Linked DNA regions of Homo sapiens: region 2 is linked to region 1. Evidence: promoter capture Hi-C in human tissues and cell types (Jung and others, 2019). All regions are on one chromosome and are shown on one strand. The core of a region is centred on a gene start or on the middle of the fragment in contact, and the rest is flanking DNA. Distances in the headings are between cores, read along the strand shown. Region 1 holds the start of GIP (gastric inhibitory polypeptide). Region 2 overlaps LOC105371811 (a long non-coding RNA gene).

What was found. Contacts are between HindIII fragments. The study calls those that stand out against the background at their distance.
Region 2: a fragment that was not itself captured here is called in contact with the fragment with the promoter of GIP in region 1 in 3 of the 25 tissues and cell types used here (aorta, dorsolateral prefrontal cortex and spleen).

The regions. Positions count from the first base shown.
Region 1 is chr17:48,967,026-48,970,608 of GRCh38, reverse strand. It overlaps GIP (gastric inhibitory polypeptide), which reads left to right and starts at 2,013. Exons shown (of 6, transcript NM_004123.3): 1 at 2,013-2,092; 2 at 3,356-3,462. The coding sequence starts at 3,377. RefSeq lists an enhancer at 3,426-3,583. The HindIII fragment of the contact is 44,226 bases long and covers 1-3,583 here.
Region 2 is chr17:48,739,332-48,742,914 of GRCh38, reverse strand. All of the region lies in intron 2 of LOC105371811 (a long non-coding RNA gene), which reads right to left. Among named protein-coding and RNA genes, the nearest start is that of HOXB13, 12 kb to the right of the region's middle. The HindIII fragment of the contact is 8,003 bases long and covers 1-3,583 here.

The DNA of each region.
Region 1 (3,583 bases), core at 764-3,263:
GCTAGGGTGTTCACCTGGAAAGGAAGGTGGCCTTTATTAGGACCTGGAGCTGATAGGCAGAGCATGAGCTTGGCTGTTTATGGTCCCAAGTACCCATGGCGGCGGCAGAGGAGGAGCCTGGAAAGAACGCCTTGGAGGTCTGCCAAAAATGCAATCTGTGCCCTGCCCCTTCTAGACTGAGAGCCCCTGTGGACAGAGCCATGTGCTAAGTACTTGGAGAAAGGCAAAGGGAGTATCCCAAGGAGTCTCCAGTCTGAGGGGGAGACACAGCCCTTAGCCTCAGAAAGCCTCAGTGTGCTGGGGGAACATCGCCTCCAGCTCTCCTCCTCCTCTCAGAGAGCTCCCAGGCAGATCAGGGACAGAAAGCCCCTGCCTTGGAGTGGCTCCTGTATAATAGAGAGGCACAGCATAACTCCAGGGTCTTCACTCTGATAGAAGAGACAGGATGACATACTTCTCTTGTACAGGACAGTAGGACATATGAGGAGAGGGGCTCCTAAATCTCTATAGATAAAGTTGTAACTACCCCACCCTCCTGTGAGCCCCTGAGGTACAAACATGTCTCTTTCTCCTGCTTTATCCTGCCCCTGAGCAGGAAGACAGCTTGAATGTATGTTCTCAGTTTATCCAGCTGTCCCTAGGAAACCCCGATCCTTCATATTCCCTCAACATTGAGCCCTTGGGACACCTCTCTAGATAATGTGATGGGGGCATTGCCACATCACCAAAGCCATAGGCCACTGTCCAGAGCTGGGATTCAGATGACTGTGGACCTACTCTCTCCCACCCAGAAGTAGCCTGTTGCCTTGTGGGAGTGTCCCCCTGCCAGTTAGTGCCACCCTACCCCAAGTCTGTCTTCACTACAAGTACCCTTTTTTATTTTTATTTTTATTTTTTGAGACAGAGTCTTGTTTTGTCACCCAGGCTGGAGTGCAGTGGCACGATCTTGGCTCACTACAACCTCTGCCTCCAGGTCTGGGTTCAAGCGATTCTCCTGCCTCAGCCTCCCAAGTAGCTGGGACTACAGGCACGTGCCACCATGCCTGGCTAATTTTTGTTTGTTTTTTTTTTTTTTGTTTGTTTGTTTGTTTTGAGATGGAGTCTCGCTCCGTCGCCCAGGCTGGCAGGCAGTGGCGCCATCTCGGCTCACTGCAACCTCCGCCTGCCGGGTTCACGCCATTCTCCTGCCTCAGCCTCCCGAGTAGCTGGGACTACAGGCACCTGCCAACATGCCCGGCTAATTTTTTGTGTTTTTAGTACAGACGGGGTTTCACTGTGTTAGCCAGGATGGTCTCGATCTCGTGACCTCGTGATCCACCCGCCTCGGCCTCCCAAAGTGCTGGGATTACAGGCGTGAGTCACTGCGCCCGGCCCCCTTTCTTTTTTCTTTTCTTTTTTTCTTTTTTGAGAGAGTCTCTCTTTGTTGCCCATGCTGGAGTGCAGTGAACTCGATCTTGGCTCACTGTAACTTCTGCCTCCCAGGTTCAAGTGATTCTCTTGCCTCAACCTCCCAAGTAGCTGGGATTACAGCCGTGCACGACCATGCCCAGCTAATTTTTGTATTTTTAGTAGAGACTGGGTTTCACCATGTTGGCCAGGCTGGTCTCGAACCCCTGACCTCAGGTGATCCGCCCGTGTCGTCCTCCCAAGCGCTGGGATTACAGACGTGATTCATCGCGCCTGGCCTACAAGTATCCCTTCTAACTGAGGGCAACTGTAAAGGAAGTAGGGCATAGAAGAATAGTAGTGGGCCCTGTGCCCAGAAGGGAGGAGGAGGAAGAAAAAAGGGGGTACTTAGGGTACCCTACCCACAGGCAGGCCCCAGACAGCAGCTGGAGATAGCCAAATGTTAATCACCAATTAGCACAGTTCAGGTGGAAAGGGCAACTCTATTATGTGTAAAATGGACTTAATGTGGCAGGAGCTGTGGGCTTAATTTCTTGAGATAAGATGCTTTTAGGCTAATCAGCAGGTCTATGCCTAATATAAAGGAGCTGGGGCATGATTTCTTCAGCAGGCTCAGAAGGTCCAGAAATCAGGGGAAGGAGACCCCTATCTGTCCTTCTTCTGGAAGAGCTGGAAAGGAAGTCTGGTAAGAGAAGTGGAGACAGGGATGGATGAGATGACCCGAGAGCAGATGGATCTTGGCAACCCTGAGATGCTCAGCAGCCCTGGCATCTTAGTTTTCTCTTCCTCTATATGAGATGTGAGAAGATAGTCAGGTGCGGTGCCTCATGCCTGTAATCCCAATACTTTGGGAGCCGAGGTAGGAGGATCATTTGAGCACAGGAGTTCAAGACCAGCCTGGGCAATGGAGGGAAACTCGATCTCTACACATAATTTAAAAAATTAGCTGGGCATGGTGGTACATGCCTGCGGTTCTAGGTACTCGGGAGGGTGAAGTGAAAGGTTTGCCTGAGCCCAGGAGGTCGAGGCTGCAGTGAGCCACGATTGTGTCACTGCACTCCAACCCGGGTGACAGAGCGAAACCCTGTCTCAAAAAAAGAGAAAGAGAAATGAGAAGGTAGCGCTGATGTTTCCTTTATTTATTTATTTAGAGATGGAGTCTCGCTCTGTCACCCAGGCTGGAGTGCACTGGCGCAATCTCGGCTCACTGCAACCTCTTCCTCCCAGGTTCAAGCGATTCTCATGCCTCAGCCTCCTGAATAGCTGGGATCACAGGCGCGCACCACCACACCTGGCTAATCTTTGTCTTTTATGTAGAGACAGGATTTCACCATATTGGCCAGGCTGGTCTCAAACTCCTGACCTCAAGTGATCCGCCCACCTGGGCCTCCCAAAGTGCTGGGATTGCAGGCATGAGCCACTGCACCCAGCCTGGTCCATCTTTTGGTAAGATTCCATGTCCCTTCTAGTCACTAACTCCAGTGCACAGCACCCCTCATCTTCCCCCATGGTGTTGCCCCAGGCTCTTAGAAAAGGTCCAAACTGGCAAGGCGCGATGGCTCACGCCTGTTATCCCAGCACTTTGGGAGGCCCAGGTGGGCAGATCACAAGGTCAGGAGTTCGAGACCAGCCTGGCCAATATGGTGAAACCCTGTCTCTACTAAAAATACAAAAATTAGCCGGGAGTGGTGGCACATGCCTGTAGTCCAGGCTACTCGAGAGGCTGAGGCAGAAGAATGGCTTGAACCCAGGAGGTGGAGGTTGCAGTGAGCCAAGATTGTGCCACTGCACTCCCACCTGGACGACAGAGCGAGACTCCATCTCAAAAAAAAAAAAAAAAAAGAAAAAGGAAAAGAAAGGGTCCAAACCTCAGGGCTTTGCCCCTCTCCAGCTTTCAGAACCCCTACTGGTTGCTCTCTCAACATGTCCTGGCTTTTTTCTGTCTTAGCTCAGGAAATAACCTTGGAAGATGGTGGCCACGAAGACCTTTGCTCTGCTGCTGCTGTCCCTGTTCCTGGCAGTGGGACTAGGAGAGAAGAAAGAGGGTCACTTCAGGTAGGAGTGGTGAGAGGAAAGGGATGGGGCAGAGGAGGGGTTAGGGGATGACAGGTTCTGGATTTGTTTCTAGGGGGAGATGAGAAAGGGAAGGAATCCAGGCTAAGAGGTAGGAAGCTCC
Region 2 (3,583 bases), core at 496-2,995, 230 kb after region 1:
ACAGCAGTTCAGGCTTTCCACCTCAGTGGTACCCTAAAGGCAGGAAGGAGTGAGAGATGGCAGAGCTAGACTGGCCACTCCACCTCTGAAACAGACCATGTTCTTTCTTTGGTTTCCTTGGGAAGCATTCAGGCCTCTGGGTGCATCCCCAAGGCAGGAAATGAACAGTCCTGCCTCTAGAGCAGCAATCTTGCCTTTAGATCTGGAGCTGTGTATCCAGTGTTTGAAACTTACATAATCCAAAGACCCACCAGAGGATCCCATTCTTGGCTGCCTCCAGTGAGAGAAGGAATGAGGTCTCTCACTCCAAGAGCAATGAGGGGACCAAAGGGAGTCAGAAAGTGACATAGTGGGTGGGCAGGGGAGGGCACTGCTTATCCCAGCTCTCCTTTCTTTGGCAGGGAGTGGAGGGAAGGATGTAGCTCTCCTGTCCATATCTGGCTGCCACAGCCAGAGGACAAGTGAGGAAGAAACCTGTAAGAATCAGTTGTTTGGTTCAACATAGAGCAGTCATCTTTTCTGAGGATGTCCAATACCTTTTGAGAACTGGGTTGGCCCAGGTTTTTAAATAAAGTAATGGCATGAAAAATGGATTGGGAGCAATTGTTATAGGTTATAAGACAGTTGAGAGACATCAAGCAAATGTAATGTATGAACTTTGTTTAGATCCTGACTTAAACTAACTGTAAAAAGACATTTTTGAGAAAACTTAGGAAATTCAAACATGGATAGTATTAAGGAATTATTCTCAATTTTGTCCTGTGTGACAATCACATAAAGGTTATATATAAAAAAAGCAAAAGAAGAGTGGCTTACGCCCATAATCCCAACACTTCAAAAGGCCAAGGTTGGAGGATCCCTTGAGGCCAGGAGTTTAGAGACCAGCCTGGGCAACAAGCGAGACCTTGTCTCTACAAAAAATAAAATAAAACTAGGCTGGGCGCAGTGGCTCATGCCTATAATCCCACCACTTTGGGAAGCCAAAGAGGCAGATCACTTGAACAAGGGAGTTTGAGACCCATCTGGGAACCCCCGTCTCGACCAAAAAAAAAAAAATGTACCCAGGCATGGTAGCACATGCCTGTAGTCCTGTAGTCCTAGGCGTGGGATCCCTTGAGCCCAGGAGTTCAAGGCTTCAGTGACACTGCACTCCTGCCTGGGTGACAGAGCAAGATCCATCTCTAAAAACAAAAAAAAATTTTTTTAAACCTGTTAAAGATTCAAACTGAAGAATTTTGGAACAAAAAAAAAGAAAAAAAAAGAAAAGAAGTCTGGGATTTGCTTTAAAATACTCCAGAAAGAAGGCTGAGCCCGGTGCTCATCATAACTTTGGGAGGCCAAGGTGGGTGGATCACGAGGTCAGGAGATGGAGACCATCCTGGCTAACAAGGTGAAACCCTGTCTCTACTAAAAATACAAAAAATTAGCCAGGTGTGGTGGTGGGCGCCTGTAGTCCCAGCTACTTGGGAGGCAGAGTGAGACTCTGTCTCAAAAAAACAAAACAAAACAAAACAAAACGAAACAAAAAACCTCCAGAAAGAAATGCAATAAGATGGGCTATGAGTTGATTATTGTTGAAGCTGAGTGATAGGTATGAGGGGTTGAATTACACTTTTTTGTTTACTTTTCTGTATCTGTAAAATTTGCCATTAGAAAACAAATCAATAGGCTGGGCACGGTGGCTCACACCTGTAATCCCAGCACTTTGGGAGGCTGTGGCGGGTGGATCACGAGGTCAGGGGTTCAAGACCAGCCTGACCAACATGGTGAAACCCTGTCTCTACTAAAAATACAAGAATTAGCCAGGCATGGTGATGTGTGCCTATAATCCCAACTACTCAGGAGGCTGAGGCAGGAGAATCGCTTGAACTCGGGAGGCGAAGGTTGCAGTGAGCCGAGATCACGCCACCACACTCCAGCCTGGGCAACAGAGCGAGACTCCGTCTCAAGAAAAAGAAAAGAATAAAGCAGTAGGCTCATGTCCTAAAAAACCACACATGTACACCAATGTTCACCCTCAATTTTAAAGGGTGAGGCTTTGAGAGCCACCCATAAAATCAAATTCAGAATCCTCAGTGCCCACCAAATACCCATTTTTTTCCCCCATAGAAGGGACAGGCTTGGAAGGTGTTTTGGCACCAGGTTGACCCAACCATGCTTGTTGACCCAAACATGACAGTTTTCTGCTGTCAGTGTGGGTAACAGAGCCATTAGAGGAGTTTGAGCCTCCCACAATTCAACTCTAGGTGAACATTTGCCAGGTATAGCTCCTTTGTTACTCATGTGGACTCAGCCTCCAAAGTAAAACAGGGTGGGAGGAATGGGGTGGGAGGAAGAGGACAGAAATTGGTTCCCACTTTTGTAGTTTTAGAAGTCATGGGGGGCACTGATAAAAAAGATGACAGTGTATTAAAGGGTTTTCTTCATTTTATTTCATTTTTTGAGACGGAGTCTCACTCTGTCACCCAAGCTGGAGTGCAGTGGCACGATCTTGGCTCACTGCAACCTCTGCCACCCGGGTTCAAGCAATTCTCCTGCCTTAGCCTCCCGAGTGGCTGGGACAACAGGCATATGCCACCACGCCCGGCTAATTTATTTATTTATTTATTTATTTTTGTAGAGATGGGGTTTCACCATGTTGGCCAGGCTGGACTTGAACTCCTGACCTCAAGGATCCACCTGCCTCGGCCTCCCAAAATGCTGAGATTATAGGCTTGAGCCACCACTCCCAGCCGGGTTTCTTTATTTTAGAGTTCATGTTTTGATTTTTCCAAATTCCTTAATTTTTCCCTTTTCCCTTTAATAATTTCCCAAATATCTTAAGTCTGTTTTTAGTATTAGTTTGAGATACTAATGAGATATAATGAAATTTATTTCCATTTTAAAATTTGTCATGGTCGGTTGCAGTGGCTCATGCCTGTCGTCCCAGCACTTTGGGAGGCTGAGGTGGAAGGGTCGCTTGAGCTCAGCAGTTTGAGACCAGCCTGGGTAACATGGCGAGACCTCGTCTCTATAAAAAATTTTAAAATTAGCTGGGCGTGGTGGTAAGTGCCTGTGGTCCCAGCTACTGAGGGGACTGAAGTGGGAGGATTGCTTGAGCTCGGGAGGTCGAGGCTGCAGTGAGTCGAGATCGCGCCAATGCACTCCAGGCTAGGTGAGGGAATGAGACCCTGTGTCAAAATAAAATAAAATAAAATAAAATAAAATAAAATAAAATAAAATAAAAATGTGTCAACGATTTGTGTTTGGAGAGGGAAGAGAAGTGAAAATATCAGAATCAGGATTTGGTGCCATAAAGCCTCGATTTGCCTCTAGAAGTTGGACAAATTATCTCCTAAACCTCAGCTTTCTTGTTTTCTTTTACTTTTTTGAGACTGGTTCTCCCTCTGTCTCCCTGGCTGGAGTGCAGCAGCGCAATCACGGCTCACTGCACCATCCAACTTCGGATTCAACAGAAATTCAGGGTTCAAGCCAGGCTGATCTGGAACTCCTGGGCTCAAGCGATCCGCCGGCCTTGGCCTCCCAAAGTGCTGGGACTGCAGGCGTGAGCCACCGTCCCGGCTCAGTTCTCTTATCTACAAAA